Regions from separate parts of the Homo sapiens genome. Here region 2 is linked to region 1. Evidence: promoter capture Hi-C in human tissues and cell types (Jung and others, 2019). All regions are on one chromosome and are shown on one strand. Each heading gives the region's core, a stretch centred on a gene start or on the middle of the fragment in contact. The rest is flanking DNA. Distances are from core to core; before and after follow the strand shown.

Region 1 (4,579 bases), core at 2,080-4,579:
GATAGAGTTTCACTCTTGTTGCCCAGGCTGGAGTGCAATGGCACAATCTCAGCTCATTGCAACCTCCACCTCCCAGGTTAAAGCAATTCTCCTGACTCAGCCTCCCAAGTAGCTGGGATTACAGACATGCACCACCACGCCCGGCTAATTTTGTATTTTTTTAGTATAGACGGGGTTTCTCCATGTTGGTCAGGCTGGTCTCAAACTCCCAACCTCAGGTGATCCACCCGCCTCGGCCTCCCAAAGTACTGGGATTACAGGCGTGAGCCACCGCGCCCAGCCAGAAAAGAATATCTGATAAGGGCGGGGCACTGTGGTTCACGCCTGTAATCCCAGCAGTTTGGGAGGGAGAAGCAGGAGGCTAGCCTGAGCCCAAGTTTCAGATCAGCCTGCTCAACATAGTGAGACTCCTGTCTGTACAAGAAAGTAATAGATAGATAGATAGATAGATAGATAGATAGATAGATAGATAGATAGGCAGACAGTAGGTGGCTTGCACCTGTAGTCCCTGTTACACCGGAGGCAAAGGTGGGATAATTGCTTGAGCCTAGGAGTTTGAGGCTGCAGTGAGCTATGATCGTACCGCTGCATTCCAGCTTGGGAGACAGAGCAATTAAAAAAAAAAAAGAAAGAAGATTTGATATAAACTCACCTCAATTAACCCATGACTGTCTTTAGAAAATACCGAATCACCTGACAGCAAAAGGGGCTCGCTTTTTTCAAAGCTCTCCTGGCTGACGAGCATGTCTGCATAGTTGGGCTGGGGGAAGATCAGGTGACTCTTCCGCGAGTCCGTGGTGAGGGAAACCTCGTGGGAATAGGTCTGCAGGAAAGCCTGCACCCCGTCCACGCCCACAAAGTGCGACGCCGGCGCTCCTGTCAAGCCGCCTCCTGAAGCCTGCAGCAGGCGTGACTTGTGCCAGCGCCGCAGCCTGAGCGCCAGCAGCAAGATGACGAAGGCCAGGAAGACGCAGGAGACCGCGGCCACCGCTACCACCAGGTACAGAGTGAGGTCTGAGGTTTCAGAGTTAGCTGGAGACTCGAGGCTGCCGAGGTCCGCCAGGACTTGGGGGATGCTGTCGGCCACGGCCACGGTGAGCGTGACAGTGGCGGAGAGAGGGGGCTGGCCGTGGTCCTGGACGGCCACTACGAGGCTCTGCTTGAGCGCGTCTCTGTCCAGCAGGGCTCGCGCCGTGCGCACCTCGCCCGTGTGCAGACCCACCGAGAAGAGTCCCGGCTCGCTGGCCTTGAGCAGACGGTAGGACAGCCAGGCGTTCTGGCCGGAGTCTCTGTCCACCGCCACCACCTTGGTCACCAGGTAGCCGGGCTCTGCGGAGCGGGGAGCCAGCTCCACGCCAGTGGAACCGTCCGTGGGGAGGGCGGGGTACAGGATCTCGGGCGCATTGTCGTTCTGGTCCAGCACGAACAGGCTCAACGACACGTTGCTGCTGAGGGGCGGGTGCCCGTTGTCCCGCGCCATCACTTTCACTTGCAAGTCTCGGAACTGCTCGTAGTCGAAGGAGCTCAGCGCATACAGTACCCCAGTGTCGGAGTTGATGGACACGTAGGACGATAGGCTTGCCCCTTGGATGGTGTTCTCAGCCAGGGAATAAGTGATCTGGGCGTTCTCTTCACAGTCGGGGTCGTGGGCGGTCACAGAGACGAGGGAAACTCCTCTGGGATTGTTCTCTGGGATATAAGCGGAATAGGAGGCCTGAGGGAAGACCGGCGGGTTGTCGTTGGTGTCTGCCACGTTCAGCGAGATATGAGTTTCCGTGGATAGGGGCGGGGTTCCCCGGTCAGTGGCGGTCACTGTGATGTTGTAGCTAGGAACCTGTTCCCTATCCAAGACTATGTCTGTGACTAAACTATAGTAATTTCCGTAAGATTTTTCTAATTTAAAGGGCAGATTTCCTTGGATGAAACAGATCACCTGTCCGTTTTCCTCAGAATCTTGGTCATTTACATTTAAAAGGGCAATTAATGTCCCTCTGGGAGAGTTTTCGGGAACCGAGCTGGCGAGAGAGGTGAGGACCACTTCTGGGGCATTGTCGTTCACGTCCAGAACAGTGATCAGGACTTTGGCTCGCGCAGAATATCCTGCATTATCCATTGCTTGCACTTCCATCTGGTAGAATCCTGACTCCTCGTGGTCCAACTCCCCTATTGTTGATATTGTCCCTGAATTACAATCTAGTTTGAAAACTTGGGCCGCCTTGTCGTCCACATACCGGAAGGAATACCTCACTTCCGCATTGACTCCTTCGTCAGGGTCGGTAGCGTTGACTACAAGCAGCTGCGTGCCCAAGGCCAGATTCTCCGGAACGCTCGCGCGGTACTCGGGCTGAGCAAACGCTGGTGCGTTGTCGTTCGCATCCAGAACCATCACGCGGATGCGCGCGGTGCCTGTGCGCACCGGGTCGCCCCCGTCGGAGGCCGTAAGGACCAGGTGGTGAGCAGCCTTTTCTTCGCGGTCCAGGGCGCGTTTCAGCACCAATTCGGGGTACTTACTACCGTCGGCTCCATTTTGCACGATGAGGGAGAAGTGAGTGTTCGGGCTGAGCTCGTAGCTCTGCAGAGAGTTCTTCCCGATATCCGGATCCCAGGCGTGGGGTAGAGGGAACCGCATCTCAGTGGCTGCATTTTCACTAATTTTTATTTCTAATTCACTTTCACGAAAGTAAGGCGCATTGTCGTTAATGTCCCTTACTTCTACTTCTACTCCATATATTTTCACTTTATCCTCCATCAGAATGTCTAGATTTAATTGACACTTGATGGCCCCCATACAGAGCTCCTCCCGGTCTATCCTGCCCGCCGTGACCAAGCTGCCGCTGCGCGGATTCAGGGCGAAAAGCTGCGTCCTACCTCTGGGGATGATGCGGACTCCGCGCTCCGCGAGCTCCCGGGGCTCCAGCCCCAGGTCCCTGGAGATGTCGCCCACCCTAGAGCCTTTCTCCAGCTCTTCCGGAACTGAATAGCGTATCTGGGTGCATCCGGTCTCCCACAGAGTCCCCAGGAGGATTCCCAGCAGGACAAGCCCTTTGTAGTCCCGGTGCAGTCGCGCAGGAATCATTCTTATCTTCCTCCAGAATTATTTTCAATTCTGCCCTTAACCACTGAAGTCAGGAGCAGTTCCTTCGCCCATAGAATGGGACAGTTGGGAAGTCAGAGCTCCTCCGTTGTTTCCACATACTCCCAGGGATGGTTCATTCCTAGCTATCTGCTTTGTGCTTCAGGCGCGTGCAAGGCGAGCAGGATCTCCGCTTTTCTCTCCCCGATTGGTGAACAGCGGCGCTCAGAGTCCTAACCAATTACTGCACAATCTTGAACTCCCAGAAAGGATATTTCGTTTTTATATCTTAAATAGCTCCACCTACTGTTCTTCAAAAGGGGATGGAAATCTACCGTATTCGCTTTAATAGAAACTTTAGTGAGCTTTTTTTTTTTTTCCCAATGAGCTTTTTTTTCCCCAATGAGCTTTTAAATGAATTGGAAGTTTCTATAAACAATGATTTTAATCTTATAATGTTAGTGCATCTGCTTTGAGATTACTGTTCCCCCAACACACCTATTATGGAGATGTCTCCCTAGGAGTTTCTCTTTTTGACAAATCATATAATATAATAATTTAAACTTTCTGATTCAGCTATAATTTGGGGAAAATATTTTTAAATAGATTCCTTGAATGATCCTGAATGGAAGGATTACTTTACCAGGTTGTTGACATGTAACGCTTAAAAATCAAATTTTCATGATATTATGGAAACCTAAAAATGATATGTGATTGTATACATTATCAGAATCACACTTAACAAGAACCCAAGTGAAAAAGAAACATTAATATTTTTAGCATAAAGTAGAAGCATTCCAACTTGCATTGACTGGAAATAATGGAAGTACTCCAGAATTCTATTAATACATTATATTTCAAAAATATTTATTGTTCAGGAAACTTAGTAAAAGAAAATTGGTAGTCCAAAGAATGTTACAGACTTACCTTTTCCTGGGTAACTGACCTAATTGTAATTACTGAGAATTACTGGTAATACTTTTGGAAGCCCATCAAAATATAGGGAAAAAATTCTCCCTAAGAAATAACTGGCTACGTACTTTCATGAGCGTAAATATTTATACTGTAAAGATATTTGCTAGGCATAAAATAAAATAATATATTTTAAATTGGGAAGAAATATATAGGTAGCTGTGAGAAAATATCAGACATAAAATTGAGTTTACTTGAATTACAAGAATCAAAAGTAAATGTAACTGAATATTATCAAATCATTACCATGTTCTTATTTTTTTAAGCTTTTTTCTCTGCCAGGCACAGTTTCAGGCAACTGTAGTCTCAGCTACTCTGGAGATTGAGGTGGGAGGATTACTGTAGCCCAAGAGTTTGAGTCCAGCCTGGGCAACATAATGAGACCTTAATCTCAATTTTTTTTAAAAAAAAAACACATTTTCTCCATTTTCTCATGCATTTTCTTCAAAATTTATAGTTAATGGATTAAAGAAAAAGCCTTATATACTCAAATATTGATGTCCCAAGAAACATCACAGGAAAAAAATTTATTCC
Region 2 (4,692 bases), core at 1-2,500, 140 kb before region 1:
CCAGGGGAAACCTTTCCAGTATAGGGTAGTCATTGGAGAAAGTGATATGGATGTCTTCATAGGGAGCTCTAGTGGTGGACTTTCAGTTCTTGGGCTACTGGGCAGGAAAAGAAAGACAGATGATACTCATGTAATAGTAATGGCACTCTCAGGTTTGCTTGGCATTTTAGGCCTCTTACCCCTAGAACAATAGGAACTGGGGTCCTTAGAGCAATAGAACTAGAGGATGTCTGAGTTCTCTTTTTCTCTTCAGTTTTTAAGAACGTTTATTGTGGTTAATAGGTTTTTGATCCTAGAGAATATTGGGATTGTACTACCATGGTCGTCCTCGTTAAATACCTTTAAAATCTTATTTTTTTTAACTATAAAAATAGGGAATCTGTGGAAATGAACTGATTCCCCTCTCCTTTAACCTTGTTTTATTTTCATTTTTATTTTTATTTGTTTTTTTTTTGAGACGGAGTCTCACTCTGTCATCCAGGCTGGAGTGCAGTGGCGCGATCTCGGCTCACTGCAACCTCTGTCTCCTGGGTTCAAGCAGTTCTCCTGCCTCAGCCTCCCAAGTAGCTGGGATTACAGGTGCCCACCACCATGCCCGGCTAATTTTTGTATTTTTGGTAGAGGCTAGGGTTCACCATGTTGGACAGGTTGGTCTCGAACTTCTGACCTCAGGTGATCCACCTGCCTCGGCCTCCCGAAGTGCTGGGATTACAGGTGTGAGCCACTCCGCCCAGCCAAACCTTGATTTTAAGGTCAGAATCATGGTGCTTTTTTCCCCCGAGCATGGCCTGGATTTATGAGCTCTGTAAATCAAGTACTGGCCCAGAACAGGAGGCAGTGGGGGGATTCCAGCACCCCCAGGCAAAAGAGGAGGTAGGGAGAATTATGGGTAATAATACTTGTGCTTCTTACTGAGATGGAGAGCTTGCTGGGAGCCTGATTCGTTTTTTCTCTAGTTGGACTCAGAGTTAACAGCCCGACATGAGCTACAGGTGGAAATGAAAAAGATGGAAAGTGACTTTGAGCAGAAGCTTCAAGATCTTCAGGGAGAAAAAGATGCACTGCATTCTGAAAAGCAGCAAATTGCCACAGAGAAACAGGACCTGGAAGCAGAGGTGTCCCAGCTCACAGGAGAGGTAATGCCTGAGCAGGGAAGGCAGAATGACCTGTAACCTCAGGATGCACATGGCTTGGAACAGGAGTCAGTCATCTCGCTCCTAGGGAGGGTTCAGCTACTAATAGGTAATCTAGTTACATGGTGCATATTTTAAAAATAATATACTGGTTTTTGGTTTGTGTTGGGGGTAAGTAATACATAAGACAGAAAATCTGGAAAATACAGAAAAACATTAAGAATAAAGTAAGTTTCATTACCACCCAGAAATAAAAGTAATAAGTCTCCTAATAAATTAGGAATAAAAACTAAACTGTTAAAAATTGACTAATTTCCTGTTATTTTAGTCACCTCTGCACAGATTTATCCTTACACACTCTCTCTGCAGTAGTAAATACTTAAATGATCTTTGATGTCTGATAACTTGATTACTTATGTGGTTATATAATCATCTGTGTAGCACATATATTAGTTATATAACTAGAACATTTAATTTACTTGACCTTTACATTTTCTAATCAAGGGAGGGTTTAACATAAAGGTTGAAATTGTCTTCTTAATACAAAGCATGCTGAACTAAGAACATGAAAACCTGAATTCTAGTTTTGGCTCTGCTGCCAAGCCGTGTGACTTTAGGTGATCATGTCATCTCTCTGACTCCTCTCAGTTCCTCCATTTGTAACATGAGAAGTTTGGATTAAGTAGTTTATTAGGTTCCTTCCAGTCCCAGTAGTCCCTGAAGTGGGGTGAGAAGTACTCACATTGATGTTATTTCTGTAGGTTGCCAAGCTGACAAAGGAACTGGAAGATGCCAAGAAAGAAATGGCTTCCCTCTCTGCGGCAGCTATTACTGTACCTCCTTCTGTTCCTAGTCGTGCTCCTGTTCCCCCTGCCCCTCCTTTACCTGGTGACTCTGGCACTATTATTCCACCACCACCTGCTCCTGGGGATAGTACCACTCCTCCTCCTCCTCCTCCTCCTCCTCCTCCTCCACCTCCTTTGCCTGGGGGTGTTTGCATCTCCTCACCCCCTTCTTTACCTGGAGGTACTGCTATCTCTCCACCCCCTCCTTTGTCTGGGGATGCTACCATCCCTCCACCCCCTCCTTTGCCTGAGGGTGTTGGCATCCCTTCACCCTCTTCTTTGCCTGGAGGTACTGCCATCCCCCCACCTCCTCCTTTGCCTGGGAGTGCTAGAATCCCCCCACCACCACCTCCTTTGCCTGGGAGTGCTGGAATTCCCCCCCCACCTCCTCCCTTGCCTGGAGAAGCAGGAATGCCACCTCCTCCTCCCCCTCTTCCTGGTGGTCCTGGAATCCCTCCACCTCCTCCATTTCCCGGAGGCCCTGGCATTCCTCCACCTCCACCCGGAATGGGTATGCCTCCACCTCCCCCATTTGGATTTGGAGTTCCTGCAGCCCCAGTTCTGCCATTTGGATTAACCCCCAAAAAGCTTTATAAGCCAGAGGTGCAGCTCCGGAGGCCAAACTGGTCCAAGGTAAGAGTTTCTGTCTATTTCTTCACCAGTCAATCTTTTTTTTTTTTTTTTTTTTTTGAGACGGAGTTTCGCTCTGTCGCCCAGGCTGGAGTGCAGTGGTGCGATCTCGGCTCACTGCAAGCTCCGCCTCCCGGGTTCACGCCATTCTCCTGCCTCAGCCTCCCGTGTAGCTGGGACTATAGGCGCGCGCCACCACGCCCGGCTAATTTTTGTATTTTTAGTAGAGACGGGATTTCACCGTGTTAGCCAGGATGGTCTCGATCTCCTGACCTCGTGATCCGCCCGTCTCGGCCTCCCAAAGTGCTGGGATTACAGGCGTGAGCCACCGCGCCCGGCCCACCAGTCAATCTTAAGAAACAGTTTCAGTTTTCTACTTTGTATTTTGTGCATGGATGGGCTACGCCTTAAGGCTTTCATCTTTCTATCTTTAAGCTTCACTCATGCTTATGTTTATTCAGGAGATATTAGGCATCTTCTTTATTCCATACATCACCACGGAGAGTTCTGTGAACCCTGTATTCTGAATTTAATCTTAACTTAATGTTTTTTGCCTTTTCTCTGAGGCTGTGAATACCATGGTAACACACAGTTTGATAATAGTCATTCACCAGTCTGCAAACTACTGATAATTGTGCTGATCCCAAAGTCATGGATTTATGAATCCACTCTCCTATCCCAATTCCGCAGGATGTGAGTTACACAGGCCATTTTTTTTTTTTTTTTTGAGTTGGAGTCTTGCTCTGTTGCCCAGGCTGGAGTGCAGTGGCATAATCTCTGCTCACTGCAACCTCAGCCTCCTGAGTAGCTAGGATTACAGGCGTGTGCCACCATGCCTGGCTAATTTTTGTATTTTTAGTAGAGATGGGGTTTCACCATGTTGGTCTGGCTGCTCTCGAACTCCTGACCTTGTGATCCGCCCACCTTGGCCTCCCAGAGTGCTGGGATTACAGACGTGAGCCACCACACCTGGCCTACATAGGCCATATTTGCATGCACAGTATTGTTCCCATGATGTGTTTGAGATGCCTGTGATTCTGAGTGAGTTAGCCTTTTTCTTCTAGAAACCAAGTTAATATAAAGGACCTTAGGGATTTGCTCATAAAATGAGCAAATTTGGCACAGTTAGCCAAACTGGTGGGAGAAATTTAATGATGAGCAAGACTTCTCTGAAATAAAGCCTTAATGGTTATGAAGCTAGAGGATTTGGAGTTAGGAGGAGGATACGTAGTATATATATGAATCTAGTTCTTGAATAATCACCAATTAACAGATGAACTGGAAGTATTCTCTCCTAATCCCACTGCAGCTATTCTGTGCCTCAAGTTAGTCTTATTCTAGTAAGACATTGCTGATAATCAGCCAGCCACCTATTTTACAGCCTCATCCGTTTTCTAGGACGGAAAGTACAGGGCTCAGTTTACTAATTCTTAACACCCTGCCTTTATCCACAGCTTGTGGCTGAGGACCTCTCCCAGGACTGCTTCTGGACAAAGGTGAAGGAGGACCGCTTTGAGAACAATGAACTTTTCGCCAAACTTACCCTTACCTTCTCTGCCCAGACCAAGAGTGAGTACCTTCCTCTTTGATGCAAAGGTCCAGTGTAGGGCTTAGAATATTTTTTCATTAGGTTTCCTATTCCCTTCCCTTCCCTGGGTGAAGATAGAAAGGGTATGTTGGATGGAAGACTGATGGATTTTCCCATTCAAAAGAAAGAAAAGATGTTTTTGTATTAAATATTATGGAGTTACTTGGTTTGGGAAAGAGAACTGTTGTATGTAGGTATTTTGTATCAGTATAACTTGTTAGGGATATGAGATTAAAGTGACAGAGCTTGATTTGGGCCCATTTTGATACTTTTGAACAGATTCTGGCACTGCCTTAAGGTGCAGTTTCCAGTTCTAAGTACATAATTAATAAGGGTTGGAAAGAGTCTTTAACAGTTTGGGTGACTGAGTGACTGTCTACAGTAACAAGAACCATATGTGATTCCTTTTCTTCCTTCCATTTCTTTCCAATATTGGATGCCTTCTCCCTCCTGGCACTTTGCTCCTGAAGCTTCCAAAGGTAAGAATACAAAAGAG

Evidence for each region. Contacts are between HindIII fragments. The study calls those that stand out against the background at their distance.
Region 2: a fragment that was not itself captured here is called in contact with the fragment with the promoter of PCDHGA12 in region 1 in 1 of the 25 tissues and cell types used here (adrenal gland).

What each region holds. Positions count from the first base shown.
Region 1 is chr5:141,429,257-141,433,835 of GRCh38, reverse strand. PCDHGA12 (protocadherin gamma subfamily A, 12) reads right to left here and starts at 3,329. Exons shown (of 4, transcript NM_003735.3): 1 at 653-3,329. The coding sequence starts at 3,076. The region is part of intron 1 of PCDHGA1 (protocadherin gamma subfamily A, 1); the gene reads right to left. All of the region lies in intron 1 of PCDHGA2 (protocadherin gamma subfamily A, 2), which reads right to left. All of the region lies in intron 1 of PCDHGA3 (protocadherin gamma subfamily A, 3), which reads right to left. It also overlaps PCDHGB1, PCDHGA4, PCDHGB2, PCDHGA5, PCDHGB3 and PCDHGA6, and 10 more genes. RefSeq lists an enhancer at 3,294-3,433. The HindIII fragment of the contact is 7,635 bases long and covers 1-4,579 here.
Region 2 is chr5:141,571,411-141,576,102 of GRCh38, reverse strand. DIAPH1 (diaphanous related formin 1) reads left to right here. Exons shown (of 28, transcript NM_005219.5): 15 at 957-1,136; 16 at 1,895-2,611; 17 at 4,063-4,177; 18 at 4,667-4,675. Among named protein-coding and RNA genes, the nearest start is that of DIAPH1-AS1, 15 kb to the right of the region's middle. The HindIII fragment of the contact is 3,111 bases long and covers 1-2,805 here.